Linked DNA regions of Homo sapiens: region 1 is linked to region 2. The links are contacts of gene promoters, found by promoter capture Hi-C in human tissues and cell types (Jung and others, 2019). All regions are on one chromosome and are shown on one strand. Each heading gives the region's core, a stretch centred on a gene start or on the middle of the fragment in contact. The rest is flanking DNA. Distances are from core to core; before and after follow the strand shown. Region 1 overlaps VLDLR-AS1 (VLDLR antisense RNA 1). Region 2 holds the start of KCNV2 (potassium voltage-gated channel modifier subfamily V member 2).

The links. Contacts are between HindIII fragments. The study calls those that stand out against the background at their distance.
Region 1: a contact is called between a fragment that was not itself captured here and the fragment with the promoter of KCNV2 in region 2, in 1 of the 25 tissues and cell types used here (spleen).

Annotation. Positions count from the first base shown.
Region 1 is chr9:2,569,633-2,573,979 of GRCh38, forward strand. All of the region lies in intron 1 of VLDLR-AS1 (VLDLR antisense RNA 1), which reads right to left. Among named protein-coding and RNA genes, the nearest start is that of VLDLR, 50 kb to the right of the region's middle. The HindIII fragment of the contact is 4,718 bases long and covers 66-4,347 here.
Region 2 is chr9:2,713,878-2,718,759 of GRCh38, forward strand. KCNV2 (potassium voltage-gated channel modifier subfamily V member 2) reads left to right here and starts at 3,633. Exons shown (of 2, transcript NM_133497.4): 1 at 3,633-4,882. The coding sequence starts at 3,863. The HindIII fragment of the contact is 9,328 bases long and covers 1-4,882 here.

The DNA of each region.
Region 1 (4,347 bases), core at 1,175-3,674, 150 kb before region 2:
GAAATCTTTATTCCCCAATAACATGACAAAGGCTTCCGATTACTTCTTTCAGTTCTAAGTGGTGTGACAGTTCATTTTATGTGTCATCTCGGCTAGGCTATGGTGCCCTCTTGTTTGGTTAAACACTAGTCTAGATGGGATGTGAAGGTATTTTGTAGATGTAATTAATATTTGTAATCTGTAGATTTTTTAGGTAAAGCAGATTACGCCCCATAATGTGGGTAGGTCTTATCTAATCAGTTGAGGGCCTTTTAACAACTGAGGCTTCCCACAGAAAAAAGAATTCTGCTTCAAGACTGCAACATAGAAATCCTGTTTGAGTTTCTCTCCTACCGCCCTGCCCTGCGGATTTTGGACATACCAGACCCCATAATTATGTGAGCAAATTCCTTAAAATAACTAGAATAATTCTCCCTTTTTCCCTCTCTCTGCCCCACCACACACACACACACACACACACACACACACACACACACACACACGTATATGTACATATGTGTGCACACACATATGTATAGATGTGTATGTATATATGTGTGCACACACATGTGTATAGATGTGTATGTATATATGTGTGCACACACATGTGTATAGATGTGTATGTATATATGTGTGCACACACATGTGTACAGATGTGTATGTATATATGTGTGCATACACATATGTATAGATGTGCATGTATATATGTGTGTATATATGTATATACATATATACATATATACATATATACATATATACATACATATATACATATATACATATATATACATATATACATATATACATATATATATACATATATATACATATATACATATATACATATATATATACATATATACATATATACATATATATACATATATCCTATTGGTTCTGTTTCTCTGGAAAACCCTGACTAATACAAGTAAATATCAAACATCGTTTATATTTTATCACAATCCTGGACTAAAATACCCAGAAGTTCTACCCTGCTTCCTAATACTTGCCTTGGAATCAGAGTGTTAGGTTTCCCAGGTTTCCTGTGTGGTTCCTCTAAGGACTCCTGTGGGTAGTCAGCGGAGAACCAGAACTCCTAGTTGCATTATTGTGGTAGCCAGGAGGTGACATTTCTCATATTCCCTTTTTAAGAGGGACAGATTTTATGAGTCACCTTGGGTGGCATAGCAATTTTGCAGCTGCGTAATGTTTGTAAGAAACTGACAGTCCCTCATGAACCACAGTGACCCAACTTGGCAGGGCCCCAGCACCTATTTATGGCCTGAGATACAGGGGAAGAGGTCACAGGAGGAGGTTCTCTCTTCTGGAATTGAGCCAGACAGACGATAACACTCTAGGTCAGAGTTAACACAGTCTGATTCACTGCAACACGTTCTCTGAATGACTTCCTAGGAGCCTAACTGAACTACTACAAATCCAGTGTTGATATCCAGTATGTAGCCACTTAGAAAAAGATAAAAAATAAAATAAAAAAGAGAAGGTCAATAATAAAAAAGAAGGCTTTAAGAGAAATAAACAAAAAATACCAAGTGTAGCCCAGTGATAGTGGGAATACAGACCTGGAACAACCCCCTTGCTCAGTTATGTGCCCTGTTCACATTACTCAGAAGACCTCACACTGCAGCTGCCGCCAACAGTAACTAGTGCCTCGAGGACAAATTCTTGTTTTTCCTTGCCTAGTTCAATACCTAGCACATAGCAGGAGCTTAAAAACTATTCACTGAGTCAATGAGCTACTAAGGACATAGAGCCCTTCACATCCACGTAGCTATTCAGCCAGGATTGTTTTTCATCCTGTCATTGAGCTTCACAAGCCCAGTATGATCCAGCACCTGAGAATATTTCTTTCTAAACTAGCCCTGATACATGTGTGCAGTTTCTGGGTTCTTAAAATCTTTAGAACTAAGGTCCTTATATTTGGATACTGTGTTTGTATTCATTTTCTAGGGCTGCCAAAACAAAGTAGCATACACTGAGTGGCTTAAACAACAGAAATTTATTTTCTCAGAGCCACGGCTAGAAGTCTGAGATTAAGATGTTGACAGGGTCGGTTTCATCTGAGGCTGCTGTCTTTGACTTGCGGATAGCCATCTTCTGTTTTTATCCTCACATGATTTTCCCTCTGTAACTGTCTGCATCCTAGTCTCATCTTCTTCAAAGGACACCAACCACATTGGATTAGGGCCCACTCTAATTATCTCATTTTATTTCATTATCTCTTTAAAGATCTGTCTCCAAATTTAGTCACATTCTGAAATACTAGGGCTTAGGAATTTGACATACACACTTCGGAGGGTCACAAACACATATACACACACATATAAGATACATGTAATAGGTAAATAAATCTTTTCACAGCTTTAAGGTCAGAAAGGGAAAGTCTTTACATCTGTTCTATCTTAATATCTTTCTCTGATTGCATACTTAGAACCCTCCATTAAGTGTGAAGGAAGAAAAACTATAGGATACAATCTCTGTATCTTTCCTCTAATTAACAATTAAACTAACTTTAAACTAATTAATTGATTTCTTTTTCATGTATCTCAAATTTTTATTTCCTCTTTGTATTAAGCTGTTCTTGCCTTGCTACAAAGAAATACCTGAGACTGGATAATTTATTTAAAAAGGGGTTTAATTGGCTCACAGTTCTGTAGGCGTACAGGAAGTACAGCAGCATGTGCTTCTGGAGAGACCTCAGGAAGCTTCCAATCATGGCAGAAGGCAAAGGGGGTACAGGCACATCACAGGCGGGAGCAAGAGAGAGTGGAGGTGGTAGGTGCCACACTCTTTTAAAGGATCAGATCTTGCCAGAATTCACTGTCATGAAGATGGCACCAGGCCATGAGGGATTCACCCCATGACCAAACACCTCCCACCAGGCCCCACCTCCAGCACTGGGGATTACAATTCAACATGAGATTTGGGCAGCAATAAATATCCAAACCATATCACTCTTTTAGAATTCTTGTAAGCTGAAAGAAACAGAAACACAGGAGTCTAGAAGTGGCCCACGGAGAAGTTGTTATGTCCTGAGCTCCTTGAGAACAGGCTGGGTCTTATGTCTGTATACTGTGAGCATATACTACATTACCTGGCATGGAATGGTTGTTCTAAAAATATATAGGTAAACGATGTGTGCAGGAAAACAAACCTCATGCTAGGTTCCTAGTTTTATGTTCCAGAAACACATTTGCCCCCTAAGCAATGTTAATATATGCTGACTTACGTTGGCCCATTGCATGCTTAACTTTTTAAAACACATTTATATATAATTACCTATTTCCTGGTGTTTCAACAGACTTGTTTGCAGCCATTTAAGTTAAAACAAAAGATAAATGTCTGCAGAGTATTATCTACACATAAACAAAACCCTAATAGCATCAATCTGTGAGACAACATTGTCCATTCAGAGATGAACTTCACCAAAACATACACTAACTGTCACTCATGGGGCTCCCTTGACTCCCCATTGCTAAGAGAGTGTATTCAAGAGTCACATACCTGTCAGGGTCAGCCTTGCATCTGACCTTGGCTTTGCCCTGGCCAAAGAGGCAGCAGTAAGAGGCAAGTGTGGGAACTTGGTTAATCTTCAGCACCTTTCTTGTTTAATACTATCAAGGTATTCCTTTAATGGGCCACTGATAAGGAGACTTTGTTGCTGAAAATCTTAAAAATTGAATGTCTAACATTCTATATCTGACCTGTGGCTGGTTATATAACTCTGATCCTTGAATGAATGATTCTGATCTGGTTAACCTCCTATCTTCTGTCTCTGGACCAGACTACGTATACTCTAGATCCTGTTATGACATGGTTGTCTATCTAGAAGGGGGATGTGGAAATAAATGATAATTACTACAACACAGTGACTAATCAGCAAGTTGTTTTCTATTTGTTCATTCAGAACAAAATTAAAACAAAGAAAACGTAAACTGGCTGGGCATGGTGGCTCATGCCTGTAATCCCAGCACTTTGGGAGGCTGAGGCAGTTGGATCACTTGAGGTCAGGAGTTCGAGACCAGCCTGGCCAACATGGTGAAACCCCATCTCTACTAAAAAAATACAAAAATTAGTTGGGTGTGGTGGTGCATGCCTGTAATCCCAGCTACTCAGGAGGCTGAGGCAAGAGAATTGCTTGAACCTAGGAGGTGGAGATTGCAGCAAGCTGGGATTGAGCCACTGCACTCCAGCCTGGGTGATAGAGTAAGACTCTGTCTCAAAAACAAACAAAAACTAAATTTATTATCCTCCCTGTTGAGACTGAGGAATCTTGATTAATAGATACATAGATGGGTCACAACTTAATTTCTTGAAAAAATTCATTATCAGCTGTAAATCTGCTGTAAC
Region 2 (4,882 bases), core at 2,383-4,882:
TATGTCCTTTGCAGGGACATGGATGAAGCTGGAAGCCATCATCCTTAGCAACCTAAGACAGGAATAGAAAACCAAACACCACATGTTCTCACTCATAATTGGGAGCTGAACAATGAGAACACATGGACACAGGGAGGGGAACGACACACACCGTGGCCAGTCAGAATGAGGGGTGAGGGGAGGGAGAGCATTAGGACAAATAGCTAATGCATGCAGGGCTTAAAACTTAGATGACGGGTTGATAGGTGCAGCAAACCACCATGGCACATGTATACCCATGTAACAATCCTACACGTTCTGCACTTGTATCCTGGAACTTAAGGTAAAATTAAATTAAAAAAAAGAAAGAGGGTGTTTTCCACATTATGGGTCAACCATTGTTGGACAGTTTTATTAGAAACAGTCTATATATGTGTATACTCATCTAATGTTGCACTTACATGCATATACATCAGGGCAAAATCCAAGCAACTACTCATACCGGGGGTGTAAGAGTCACTTAAGTGGGGTCTACCCAGGTAATATTCCTCAATCTACTGTATGGATGTGGTGTTTGTGCTTAGCTTCTAGATGCCATACAAACATTACTAACTCCATAGTTTTTAAGTGTTGAAAGTCTGGATAAGTGGTAGTACATGGGTTGGGCATGGTGGCTTACACCTGTAATCCCAGCATTTTGGGAGACCAAGGTGGGTGGATCACCTGAGATCAGGAGTTCGGGACCAGCCTGGCCAACATGACAAAACCCCATCTCTACTAAAATTACAAAAATTAGCCAGGCATGCTGGCGGGCGCCTGTAATCCCAGCTAGTCAGGAGGCTGAAGCAGAAGAATTGCTTGAACCCAGGAGGCGGAGATTGCAGTGAGCCGAGATCACGCCACTGCACTCCAGCCTGGGCAACACAGTGAGACTCTGTCTCAAAAAAAAAAAAAAAAAGTAGTATATTATTTCAATTGAAAAAGAAGAAGATAAAAATATGAAAATGGTGATATTTTTACTTTTTTTTTTTTTGTCGAGACCAAGTCTCACTCTGTCACCCAGGCTGGAGTATAGCAGCATGATCTCAGCTCACTGCAACTTCTGTCTCCCGGGTTCAAACAATTCTTGTGTGTCAGCCTCCTGAGTAACTGGGATTACAGGCACCCGCCAACATGCCCAGCCCGGCTAATTTTTGTATTTTTAGTAGAGATGGGGTTTCACCAAGTTGGCCAGGCTGGTCTCAAACTCCTTACCTCGAGTGATCCACCTACCTCGGCCTCCCAAAGTGCTAGGATTACAGGCGTGAGCCACCACACCCAGTCTTTACTTTTTATAATAGTATAATTGGTTCTGAAGAGAAAAGGTGAATTTATGCAACATGCAAAATCTATTATGGCAGTACTCAGCACAATATAAAGAAAAGATAGACTTGGAAAGCAATTAAGTGTGTGGCTAGCAAAACAACATCAATATTGTATACCAAAAAGGGAACGCTAGAAATACATTTAGGAACTTAAAGGCTAAGCCTGGTAAGAAGCTTTACCATAAGCTTGTAGGTCTGAGGCCTATTGCAAGCTAAACAACATCAGTGAATGCCACACTAGCAGATGCAGACCTCATAACGTTACCCGTCTCAACAACTTTGAAGCATAGTTAAAACTCAACTAAGTGACAAAGATAGTACCACAAATCAGTGAGGAAATGATGGATTATGCAATTAATGTGTTGAAACATCTGGATAAAAGCTTGGAAAATAAAGTTAGGCCCCTACTTCACTCTTTACATCAAAATTAATTTCTGATGTTAAAACTATAAAAAGAAAAGTTTTATTTACAGAGAGGTGAAGCCTTTTCTAATACTACACAACACCCAGAAATCATAAAATAAAGATTTTTACATGGAAAAAATATTAAAGTTAAAACCGAAAAAAGGTGCAATCCATATCACAAGTAAAGGGTCTTTTTTCATAATGTATTAAGCTCTCCTACAAATCAATAAGAAAAATGTAAACAACTCAGTGGAAAATATAGGCAAAGTCGATGAACAGACAGTTCCCAGAAAAAGAAATAGCTTTTAATCACATGAAAAAGTGTTCAATCACATTTATAAGAAATACAAATTAACCCACACATCATTTTTCACTTACAAAATTGGTAGAGTTAAAAAAGTATAAGACATTTTCAACCGTTGATGAATTGTAAATTGGTAAAACTTTTATGGAGAGAAATGTAGCACTACTAATCAAAATTACAAATGTGCAATCTTTGACCTAGTAATCTCACCTCTAAGAATTTATCCTTTATATATCTTGAACATGTGTAAAGTGATGTACATATAAGGTATTTGTTGCATAATTGTCCATAAAAGCAAAGGTAGAAACATTCTGAATGTCTGTCATTAGGAAAGTGCTCAGTGGCTATTTTTAAAATAAGGTAGATATTTGTGTTCAAATATGAAAACATCTTTTATATGGCCAACTGGAAAAGGCAAAGTATATAGCATTCTATGATTTCTATTAATAATGAAGAGGTACTGAGATGATGGATAAAGGTAGGTATATTTTTGCTTGTATATGTTTAGAATATTTCTGGAAGGATAGCCAAAAGGTAGTAATAGTGGTTGCTTCCTTGAGGTACACCTGATGTCTTGAAATTATGGGTGGGAAAGACATAAACTTTCTACTGTAATATGTCTTTTTACCTTTACAATTTTTTATCATGAATGTGTATTAGCTATGCAAAATAAATTGAATAGAAAAACCAATTCCCTGCTCAAAGCAAATCCCTCCTGCTTCTCTCCTCCCCAGTATTTATTGCATCTTTTGTTATCCTTGCATGTTTATATCCCCAACAAAACCAAGAGTTCTTTGACTGCTACAACTGTGTCTCCATCGTGTTTGCATATCCAGCATTTGCACATTGCCTTAATCATGAAAAGGGTTTTTTTTTTTTTTTTAAAGTGATGTTTTGAAGGATGAAGAAGACCCTTTTTTTTTGGGTGGAAGTCAGGCTCCCTTTAAATATGGCCTAATATTGCTGAGCAGGGTTGTGAGGCCCTAAAAACGTCTTCCTACCATTCCTGGAATTCTACCTTGAAACATGTCTCTATCCTTTAAGAGAAAGGGAGGAGATAAAAAGGAGAGAGAGAAGCTGAAGCTGACTCAAAGATCCGACTGGACCTGAACAGTGCCCCAGGGAGAATCCATTTGAAAAAAAAAAAAAAATGTGATCATGTGAATGGACAAGAAGGAGATGGCTTTAGATCTTATATGCTCTAAACGAAGAGTTACGCTGAGAGGGAAACTGACTTGTCATGAAGTCAGCTTTGTTCCGTTGCTATGTGTCATCCCTGCTAATGGTGAGTTTACCTAGGGCAGAGGCTACCATCTCAACCATGAAGCTGAAGACACAGGCATCCGTATTCTATAGCTAATTCAGTTGATTTCATCTCAGCACACATACACTGAGCGCTTCCTAAGAGCGAGGTTGACCGACATTTTTATTAGCAATAATCTCTGCCTTCTTCTGATTACCTAGAGATTTAAGACCACATAATCATCCTCTACCTCACAGGGTCAAGGGAGTGGGGGAGGAAATGGGCTAAGAGGTTCTAAATCCCTCCTAACACTTGCTTCTTCCAAATCAGCAAGATTAGAGCAGTCAACAGCTGACTGCGTTCAGACCCTGCAGGCTGGGCTGGCCTGCCCAGGACCTGAGAAGGGGCAGCTCCGGTGGCAATGTCTGAGCCCCTAGCTGTGCTGGTCCGGGCTGGCCTCTCTAAGACAGTGCAGGCCACGTGATCCATCCTCCTAGAGGCAGTGAGCAGGTGAGGGACCCCTACCACAGCCAGGAGGAAAAAGCTAGGCGTCCACTTTCCGCAGCCATGCTCAAACAGAGTGAGAGGAGACGGTCCTGGAGCTACAGGCCCTGGAACACGACGGAGAATGAGGGCAGCCAACACCGCAGGAGCATTTGCTCCCTGGGTGCCCGTTCCGGCTCCCAGGCCAGCATCCACGGCTGGACAGAGGGCAACTATAACTACTACATCGAGGAAGACGAAGACGGCGAGGAGGAGGACCAGTGGAAGGACGACCTGGCAGAAGAGGACCAGCAGGCAGGGGAGGTCACCACCGCCAAGCCCGAGGGCCCCAGCGACCCTCCGGCCCTGCTGTCCACGCTGAATGTGAACGTGGGTGGCCACAGCTACCAGCTGGACTACTGCGAGCTGGCCGGCTTCCCCAAGACGCGCCTAGGTCGCCTGGCCACCTCCACCAGCCGCAGCCGCCAGCTAAGCCTGTGCGACGACTACGAGGAGCAGACAGACGAATACTTCTTCGACCGCGACCCGGCCGTCTTCCAGCTGGTCTACAATTTCTACCTGTCCGGGGTGCTGCTGGTGCTCGACGGGCTGTGTCCGCGCCGCTTCCTGGAGGAGCTGGGCTACTGGGGCGTGCGGCTCAAGTACACGCCACGCTGCTGCCGCATCTGCTTCGAGGAGCGGCGCGACGAGCTGAGCGAACGGCTCAAGATCCAGCACGAGCTGCGCGCGCAGGCGCAGGTCGAGGAGGCGGAGGAACTCTTCCGCGACATGCGCTTCTACGGCCCGCAGCGGCGCCGCCTCTGGAACCTCATGGAGAAGCCATTCTCCTCGGTGGCCGCCAAGGCCATCGGGGTGGCCTCCAGCACCTTCGTGCTCGTCTCCGTGGTGGCGCTGGCGCTCAACACCGTGGAGGAGATGCAGCAGCACTCGGGGCAGGGCGAGGGCGGCCCAGACCTGCGGCCCATCCTGGAGCACGTGGAGATGCTGTGCATGGGCTTCTTCACGCTCGAGTACCTGCTGCGCCTAGCCTCCACGCCCGACCTGAGGCGCTTCGCGCGCAGCGCCCTCAACCTGGTGGACCTG